3 separate regions of the Homo sapiens genome follow, and regions 2 and 3 are each linked to region 1. The links are contacts of gene promoters, found by promoter capture Hi-C in human tissues and cell types (Jung and others, 2019). All regions are on one chromosome and are shown on one strand. Each heading gives the region's core, a stretch centred on a gene start or on the middle of the fragment in contact. The rest is flanking DNA. Distances are from core to core; before and after follow the strand shown. Region 1 overlaps GLE1 (GLE1 RNA export mediator). Region 2 holds the start of TRUB2 (TruB pseudouridine synthase family member 2). Region 3 holds the start of PKN3 (protein kinase N3).

Region 1 (3,135 bases), core at 212-2,711:
ATATTTGAATAAATGCTTTTGAACCTTAATGAGAGTCTGTCTTAAATATCATTGCCCAAACAAAAACACAAATTAGGGGCTGAGCACAGTGGCTTATGCCTATAATTATGCCTATAATTGCAGCTCTTTGGGAGGCCACAGGAGGAGGATCACTTGAGCCCAGGTGTTCAAAACCAGCCTGGGCAATATAGCAAGACCCCATCTCTACAAAAAAAAAATTAGCCAGGCATGATGGCATGCATCTATAGTCCCAGCTACTAGGGAAGCTGAGACAGGAGGATCGCTTGAGCCCAAGAGTTCAAGGCCTCGGTGAGCTATGATCGCACCACCGCGCTGCACTCCAGCCTAGGTGACAGAGTGAGACACCGTTTCCAAAAGATAGGTGTATATCATAGGTGTGATTCATGTGTCTTTCTCTCCCTGTAGAATTGAAGCTATCACAAGCTCAGGACAGATGGGCTCCTTCATACGCCTCAAGCAGTTCTTGGAGGTAAGATGCCCTTAGACCAACATGCCCCACACTGTTGTTGGGCTGGAATGCACCTATGTCTGACAAGTCTTGGACCTTCCGATGCTCTGATTGCACTCTCTTCCTTAGTTCTTCCAAACCCTTCTTTTTGTTCCTAATTCCCTCTTAACCTTTGGAGTAAGGGCTGCCATTTCCTCTTCTTTATATGTATCATTCTCTATACTGCCTGTGAGAAAGCTATGCTGAGATGAGTAAAATATATTTAGTGTATCTCCTCTCATTAATATATATTTTTTTTGCATGTTGGCCAAGGTTATTTTCTTAGTCTCAGGTCTGGGGAATTGGTAAGTGTCATCACTTTTCTCCATGAGATCAAACTGCACTTTCAGTTGGACTCTTCCCCTACTTCCAAGTGCCAAGAGATTGTAAAAGGTTAATTTTGACAAAGAATTTAGAACACTATAGTGGGTTTGCCAAGATAGCCTGCTGACTTTTCAGCTTCTCAAAGCTCGATTGTGAAAATAGTGATTGTGAAAGATGAGGTTAGCCTGTAGGGAGACAAGAGTGGGACAGGAATAATAAGAGCATTTCATTTGTTGTCTGGAGCAGATCATGCAGAAGTGGACATCTTATACAGAACCATCAGTCTTACTGGCTTTTTCCTTTTTGTTCACTGTTCCATAGGGCTGAAATATGGTGTTCCTCAAAGCTTCTTTTAACCATTAAGTGTTGGGAACACTGTTATCAGAAACTCATTCTGTTTTCTTCATCTTTCCCTGACCAGAAATGTTTGCAACACAAGGACATTCCTGTCCCCAAGGGCTTTCTGACTTCCTCCTTCTGGCGCTCCTGATGTCACTCCATCACCCACCATCACCGCTGCTGCAAAGAGGCAATAATAAAGGAACTGAAGACAGCTGTATTTGGGAGAAGTCATGTCAGATTCAGAAATTTGCCATTATGTATTTTTATGTATTTATGCCTTGTGACTAGGAGAGGAGATTTTCATGGGTCACAAAATTCTTGGAGGTCCCTTAGTAGATTTGGTAGTTCCTTAAGAGATCCACGTGATAAAATAAATGGAGTTGGCCTTTCTTGTTTTTTGCAAAAGTGATAAAAGGTCTTTAGCACTTGGTCTCCTCCCTTGTCTCTAGTGTCTTTCAGAAAGTTGGCAATACCTTAACAAATGCACTCTGAGCTGGAGGGAGCCCACCATTTGCACCCACCTACCCACCCTCACCCCTGTTCAGATGAATTTCCAGAAAGAGCTAAGGCTCATAAGGTTCCCTTTTAAGTATTATTTAATAGTTGAGGCCAGATACTTACATGCAAGTCTGGGTTATGGTTGTTTTGCCTTTCTCAGCTTGTGAAGTCATTCTAAAGCTAGAGGAAGTATGTGATATACACATGGACTAAGGCTCAGGTGACACTATGGCTAGATTAACATCTGGGATTAGGACTGGAAACACATGTCATTTTGAACTAAGGGAAACTCTTTGTCATCCTAATTTGGAATTTGGTCCCTGGATGGCTAGGGATCCATGAACCAGGCAGGTACCTTTTTTGTTTTTGTTTTGTTTTGTTTCTTTTCTGTTTGAATTAAGATGGGCTAAGATGGGGCTTGCAACATTAAACATGAGCTGAGCATCCATAAGCATTGAATTGGGATTAAATAAAGATGTTGGGCAGGAACTGAACACTGCTAATATGATGATAAATATGCCTGACTAAAGCCACTACAGAAATCCAGAGATTGGCTGTTAAAATTTGTTTTGTGGAAAGACTAATTCTCTTTGATACTGCAGAGGCAGTGGCCATGGATCTGTTCCTCTGTGCTAAATGTCTTGTGGCAGGGTGTGTTTGTGGGGGAGTGTTCACTGGTACTCTTGAGTGGCCTGAAGTGACCCATTCTATGAATTGTTAATTAAGGTGCCAAAAAAAATTAATAATAAAGCTTGGTTTTTTGAAAAACCCATTGCTGATATATTGGTTCAATATGATCAATTTCCTCTGCCTTGAGCTATGTAAATCATGATAGTATACAAGTCCAGGTATAGAGCGGTATGCATTTATTCCTTTTGGTCTTCTTGACCTACACCTTGGGAATATTACTTCTTTTTCTGTCATTTCCTTTTTTGGAATTATGTACTAATAACTGACCCTATTTTATCTAGCAAGAGATGTGAAAGTGTATTAAAATCTTTGAAAGACACAATAGGCCGTGCTTAGTGGCTCATGCCTGCAGTCCCAACACTTTGGGAGGCTGAGGTGGGAGGATTGTTTAAGTCCAGGAGTTCAAGACCAGCCTGGGCAACATAGTGAGACCCCCATGTCTAAAACAAATTTTTTTGGCCAGGCGCGGTGGCTCACGTCTTACCAGCCTGGCCAACATGGCAAAACCCTGTCTCCACTAAAATTACAAAAATTAGCTGGGCATGGTGGTGTGTGCCTGTAATCCCAGCTACCCAAGAGGCGGCTGGGGCAGGAGAATTGCTGGAACCCAGGAGGCAGAGGCTGCAGTGAGCCGAGATCACTCCAGCCTGGGCGACAGAGTAAGACTCTGTCTCAAAAAAAAAAAAAATTTTTTTTTAAATTTTTCAGGCATGGTGGCACATGTCTGTAGTCCCAGCTACTCAGGAGGCTAAGGTGGGCAGATCACTTGAGCT
Region 2 (3,135 bases), core at 233-2,732, 220 kb before region 1:
TTTTAGTAGAGACGGGGTTTCACCATGTTGGCCAGGATGGTCTCGATCTCTTGACCTCATGATCCACCCTCCTCGGCCTCTCAAAATGCTGGGATTACAGGCGTGAGCCACCACGCCTAGCTAGATTACTTATAATGCCTAATATAATGCCTATGCATCACCTTGAGTGGATTCAACACAGTACTAGGTGCACAGCAAATTCAAGTTTTGCTTTTTGGAACTTTGTGTTTTTCTTCCCAAATACTGCCAATCTGAAGCTGGATCATGGGATGTGGAACTCATGGACTCAGAGGCAACTGTACTTAGTGACACGTGAAAATTACCTGAAGTTCAAATATGAATATTCATAAAGTTCTATTGGAATACAGCTAGGCTCATTCCTTTAGATACTGTCTATAGCTGTTTGGCACTACATTGGCAGAGTTGAGCAGTTCCAACGGAAATCACATGGCCTGAAAACTAAAACATTCAGTATCTGGCCCTTTCCAAGGAAATCTGCCAATTCCTGGTCTAATACCTCACTCCTCTGTGGACCTTCAAGGGCCTGGCACAGGAATCTGAGCACTGGGACACTGACTCGGCTCAGGGATTTCCTGGGAAGTGACACACAGGATCCTGCTTAAATCTGCCTTACCCAGTGGATGGTTGATGAAAGAGGGTACGCTGGTGGCTGTGAGGGTCAGCTCCTTCTCTTCGCTGCCTTCCATGGGGCCCAGCAAGAAGCGAACACGCTGTTTAGGAGCGGGAGGCTTCCTGGCATTGAGACCTGAACACACAGAGATAATATATACACACATACATACAAATATATGTACATATAAAATATTTTTTAAGAGACAGGGCCTCGTTCTGTAGCCCAGGCTGAAGTGCAATGGCGCCATCATAGCTCACTGTAACGTCAAACTCTTGGGCTCAAGCGATCCTCCTGCCTCAGCCTCCAGAGTAGCTGGGATTACAGGCGTGCACCACGATGCTGACCAGGAATATCTTGTTCTGTCCAAACACTTGGGGGATTAGACAACAGGGAAGTATGATGTAGAAGACAAAGCAGAAGCCCATGGTGCAGAGGGCAGTATAGCAGTAGTTAAGAAACAGGCGGATTCAAACAGACTCTACAACGTAGTAACCGTGTGACAAGGAACAATACTGAGTCAGTTTCCCCCTCGGAAAACAGAGGAAAGTGAGGAGTAAGAAAGCACAGAGAACAGGCGTTTGGGAAAGCGCTCTGCCCAGGTGAATAGGTCACGTGATTTTGTTTTGGGGTAAGGACCAGAAGCGGAGATGGACTTCCAAGAGAACGAGAGCGGGAACGTGGGTCTGGTTCGAGGCACTCACCCTTCAGAAGTTGTAGCTCCACTGTATCCCGCAGGTGCTTCCATTTTAGCCCCGGGGGCTTATAGACCGCGAAAAGCCCATGCAGCCGCGACAAGCCAGCAGACCCCATACTTGAAGATCACAGCACCCGCTGGACCTGGACGGAAGTACCGCCAGGCCCCGCCCCCAAATGTGGTCCTTTCCACGGGCGCCGCCATGTTCCACAGCCGGAAGAGGTTCGCATTTTATAGTCTTCGGGGAAAACCGGCTGTGGAGAAGGAAATAGGGCCCGGCGCTGAGTGAGCGTGGTTGCGTGTCCTTTGCAGACACTTTCTGGGGCGAGGTGACATGGCGAGAGTCTTGGATCGGTGGACGTAGACGGTAGACAGTTCGCGTGCGTTTCCTTCGCCTACTTGGCCTACATGCCTTCTGCCCGTGAAGCGATGTTTCCCCTCGAAAGGCCGTAGGCTACGCCGTCAGAATCGGTTTTTCAGTGAGTTTTGACCCCTCCGACGCTCCGTCGCCTGACAGAATCGCGGCGTTCTTCGTACCCGCCCATCCTCCGCGGACGCCCGCTGCCATGGCGACTCTGCTGCGCCCTGTCCTCCGTCGGCTCTGCGGGCTCCCGGGCCTACAGCGGCCTGCGGCAGGCAAGTGGCGCCGGGTTCTGGGCGCAGGCGGGAAGGAGCCTGAGGGCGCCCGGCTCCTCTGACCTCGGCCTTTTTCTTGCCCCGCAGAAATGCCCCTCCGGGCTAGGAGCGACGGCGCCGGCCCGCTATACTCGCACCACCTCCCCACCTCCCCGCTGCAGAAAGGGCTGTTGGCCGCCGGCTCCGCGGCGATGGCGCTCTATAACCCCTACCGCCACGGTAAGGCCGCCCGCGCCTCGCCCCCGTGGGGGCGGCTTGGAGCCGTTTCCTGTGGGTAACTGGAACATAGCCTAGGTCGGGGTACCCAAACCTGGTTGCAGCTCGTAACCACTCGGAACGTTTATGAAAATGCAGATTCCTGGATCCCACCTAAACGCACTGAATCTGAATCTGAATCTGCAGTGGAGGGAGAAATGGGCGTGAAACCGAAAGTCTGTCTTTAAACTACTTGGGAGAATCTGTCATGCAGCCATATTGAGAACATCTAGACTAAATAGATGATTCATAAGTACCGATCAGTTTATAATATCCTACTAGAAAGTCAACTCCGAGGTCGAGGACCATGTCTGCCTCGTTCCACTGCATCTGCAGCCTTCTGGATAGTGCCTGGCACATAGTAAATGCTCAATAAATGTTTGCTGGATGTGTGACTAGAACATTCTAGGGTTCTACAGTGTTTTTCTTATGCCTCCTAGATTTTTGAGTTCTGGGAAGTACTGTTATTCCTACTAACAAAAACAGGCTAGGCGCTATTATAGTGGCTCACGCCTATAATCCCTATCGGGGGGCCGAAGCGGGCAGATGGCTTGAGCTGAGGAGTTTGAAACCAGCCTGGGCAACACGGTGAATCCCCATCTCTACAAAAAAAAATACAAGAATTAATTGGGGCTGGTTGCATGCGGCTGTATTCCCAGGCTGAGGTGGAAGGACCATTTGAGCCGGGGAGTTCGAGACTGCAGTAAGTTGTGATTGCGCCATTGCACTCCAGCCTGGGCGACAGAGCGAGACCCTGTCTTAAACAAAAAATACACTATATCTCCATGTCCCCAGTGGTTTTTTGTTTGTTTTGTTTTGAGACACAGTATTGCTCTGTGGCCCACGCTGGAGTGCAGTGGCGCAATCTCAGCTCTATGCAACTTCCACCTCCCAGGTTCAAGCGATTCTCGTGCCT
Region 3 (3,135 bases), core at 203-2,702, 160 kb after region 1:
CTCCTGACCTTGTGATCCGCCTGCCTCGGCCTCCCAAAGTGCTAGGATTACAGGCGTGAGCCACCGCGCCCAGCTGCCTTTTTAATTTTTTTTTAGCAGAGACGGGATTTCACCATGTTGGCCAGGCTGGTCTTGAACTCCTGACCTTAAGTGATCTGCCCTCCTCAGCCTCCCAAAGTGCTGGGATTACAGGCATGAGCCACCATGCCCAGCCAACCCCCATGTCAAAGAACCTACTATGTGCCAGGTGCTTCTGCTAATGTCTAGACCTCAACAACTCTAATGTGTAAATGTCACATTTCGCCTCTGATTATGAAATCTGGGCATGTTTCACAGAGCCAAGTTGCCTTTGCTTATATGTCAATGCCACTTGGGTGATTTCCCATAGCAGGACAACCCAGTGTTGTCCATGGCTCACCAATTTCACTTTTTTCCAGTCCATTATGAAGGAAGTGATTAGTGCAAAGCACAACATGTGGCTTCCTTCATTCAGTAAGAGCACCAGAGCCTGTCTGTTCCAAGTCACTGTCGGTATTTGACCCTTCATCACCTTCCCACCTCCTGGAGGACGCTCCTCCACGAAGTGCTGACACAACCTCCTGTAAACGCAGGATGCCAGGACGGGCTGAATGGCCCGCCATAGACTAGGCAGTGACCAGCACACCTCCCTTGGGCTGAAATAGTGGCGGCTATTTCACCAGGTGTAAATGGCTTTTCTCCCGTGTGGATGGATGGGCTTTTTAGGGTAAAGCCCTAAAAAGTGGCACGGGCTGAACCAGCAAGCTCAGTCTGAGTAAGAGATGGGCCGGAGAGAGGTCTGGTTCATTCATCTGTAATTTGTAATTTATCATAATTTTGGGTGAGGATTTACTTTTCCACAAGTATACGTTCTTTTTTTTTTTTTTTTTTTTTTTTTGAGATGGAGTCTCGCTCTGTCACCCAGGTTGGAGGGCAGTGGCAGGATCTCGGCTCACTGCAACCTCCGCCTACTGGGTACAAGTGATTCTCCCACCTCAGCCTCCTGAGTAGCTGGGATTACAGGCGCCCGCCACCACGACCGGCTAATTTTTGTATTTTTAGTAGAGACGGGGGTTTCACCATGTTGGCCAGGCTGGTCTCGAACTCCTGACCTCGTGATCCGTCCACCTCTGCCTCCCAAACTGCTGGGATTACAGGCGTGAGCCACCGCACCTGGCCTAGTATACATTCTTGTAGTGACTAATATCTAGTCTGGGCCAACCACTCCGAGGAGAGAGACAATTTTGGATTAGCCCACATTACACCAACAACGTGCGAGACAAAGAGAGACTTGAGGGGCTTGGTCGAGGAGGCCCAGCGCGTTAGAGGCGGGAGCCAGGTTGTAGAGGGGCTCAAAGTTAGAGGAGGCGGCCAGCTCCACCGGCTGCACCCGGCTGGGCGACCCGGCAACCTTCAGGGGGCGCTGTTTCCCCCATCCCTGTCCCTAACTGGCCGGCTCCCGCGGGCGCGCGGCGGGGAAGGCCAGAGGACCTGGGCGCGGGCGATGTGCCTCCTGAGCGTCCAAACCGGGGGTGAGGCGCGGTCACGCCCAGCGGGAACCGCAGGCGCCGAAGCCCGGGTACTGGGCCCAGAATCCCGCGGAATTTTGGATCCGAGGGAGGCGCTGGGGCGCGGGACCTCGGGCGTGGGGTCCCGGGCGCTGGATCGGCGCGGACGGGAGGCGGCGCTGGTCCCGCGGGCCAGCGGGTCTCGGGAGGGGGCGCCCGATCCCGCGTCTCCGGCGCCGCTTCCCGGGAAGTTTCAAGTTTGAAAGTCCTGGCGGAGGGTCTGCGGCTTCCGGGACCGGAGTGGCTGAGAGAAGGGCCCCAAGCGGCCGGAGCGGCGCCATGGAGGAGGGGGCGCCGCGGCAGGTGAACGGCGTGGGAGGGGCGCGCGGGCCCGGGGGGTGCGAGAAAGCCTCTGTCATCGCCCCGGAGCCCCGAACCGCGGCCGCTTCCCCCGATCCTCCCCTCACCCGCGCCCCTTCCCTGCCCCTGCCCTGGCCCCGGCCCCGCGACGCCCTCGCAGAGCAGACCTGATCTCCGGGTTCGGTGGTTCCTGGACCTTGCACAGTCTCCAAATCAGTCCGCGGCTGACCCGGAGACTGAACCCCAACCAGCCCGTGAGCGAGGACGGCTGAGTCCGCAGTGTGCGCCACCAGGGTGGTCCCCAGAGTGTCCTTAAGTCGGTTCTCCTCGGTGGGGCTCCAAGGCCGACGGGAATTAGCCGGGATAGAAAGGCGGGGCACAGGGGCCTGGGGGGGTTAGAATGTGCGCGCAGCGGGGGGCGCAGTCTGTGCGCGCTTGGCAGTGGCAGGAGTCCTTCCCGGAGCACAGGAGGCACGAGGGGAGCGTAGATGAGAGGGGAGCGGCCTCCCCCGCCCCAGGGCGGGAACCTTTGGGTACATAGCGGGTTCTAGAATGCGGAGGGGGCTGGGTTTCCTGCCAGAGCTGGCAGTAGGTGCGCGTGGGCCCGGAGGACCGAGGCCATGTCTATCTGCTCCTGAGGAGGGAGAGGTGGTGTCCTGTTCCGGAGCGAGTGGTTGGGAGGGGGGCATTTGCGGACAGGAGTGGGTCCCCGCAAAGAGCGGAAAGGAGGTGGTGTGTGTGTCCATGTTGGAGTTCCAACCCAGGGCAGACGGGACCATGGGGGTGTTGCGGGGTGCGTGTAGACTCCTTGAGCGCCCAAGCCAGTCGTTTAGGCCGCCTTCAGGGCTGGGGCTCGGTCTGCCCCCTCCCACCCCCTTCCTCTGGAGGTCCCTCCGCCTGTTCCAGACGTAGCTTGTACACATTTTCCGATTTCCTGCGGGGCTCCGCCCTGCAGCGGCAGCTGGGTGACTCAGGACCCCGGTGGCCGGGCCCCCAGCTCCATGGGACCTTTGTTTGCTCCGGTCTTTGGCTCTGGCCCTGTGGCCTAGGGCGGTCAGAGGATTTCCTGAGCCTCGCCCTTGCCCTCTGACAGCTGGGCCAGCAGGCCCCGCTGAGGTCTGGGGTGGGGGGGTCCCTGAGTCTGGGGTTGCGGCCCCTTCCACTGGGCTCAGGAGAAGATGGAACACAGAGAGGTAAGATGGGGTTCCTGCAACAGCCCGTGTTGCGGGGCATCATGGGTTACCCGGCC

The links. Contacts are between HindIII fragments. The study calls those that stand out against the background at their distance.
Region 2: the fragment with the promoter of TRUB2 here is called in contact with a fragment that was not itself captured in region 1 in 1 of the 25 tissues and cell types used here (dorsolateral prefrontal cortex).
Region 3: the fragment with the promoter of PKN3 here is called in contact with a fragment that was not itself captured in region 1 in 1 of the 25 tissues and cell types used here (hippocampus).

Annotation. Positions count from the first base shown.
Region 1 is chr9:128,539,849-128,542,983 of GRCh38, forward strand. GLE1 (GLE1 RNA export mediator) reads left to right here. Exons shown (of 16, transcript NM_001003722.2): 15 at 427-490; 16 at 1,254-2,440. The coding sequence ends at 1,322. The region is part of intron 2 of LOC101929270 (a long non-coding RNA gene); the gene reads right to left. Among named protein-coding and RNA genes, the nearest start is that of SPTAN1, 11 kb to the right of the region's middle. The HindIII fragment of the contact is 3,623 bases long and covers 1-3,135 here.
Region 2 is chr9:128,320,965-128,324,099 of GRCh38, forward strand. It overlaps TRUB2 (TruB pseudouridine synthase family member 2), which reads right to left and starts at 1,483. Exons shown (of 8, transcript NM_015679.3): 1 at 1,336-1,483; 2 at 635-766. The coding sequence starts at 1,444. It overlaps COQ4 (coenzyme Q4), which reads left to right and starts at 1,875. Exons shown (of 7, transcript NM_016035.5): 1 at 1,875-1,964; 2 at 2,052-2,183. The coding sequence starts at 1,895. RefSeq lists an enhancer at 1,183-1,722 and a silencer at 2,103-2,162. The HindIII fragment of the contact is 10,812 bases long and covers 1-3,135 here.
Region 3 is chr9:128,701,051-128,704,185 of GRCh38, forward strand. PKN3 (protein kinase N3) reads left to right here and starts at 1,453. Exons shown (of 22, transcript NM_013355.5): 1 at 1,453-1,889. The coding sequence starts at 1,866. RefSeq lists a silencer at 1,346-1,915 and an enhancer at 1,730-2,269. The HindIII fragment of the contact is 13,608 bases long and covers 1-3,135 here.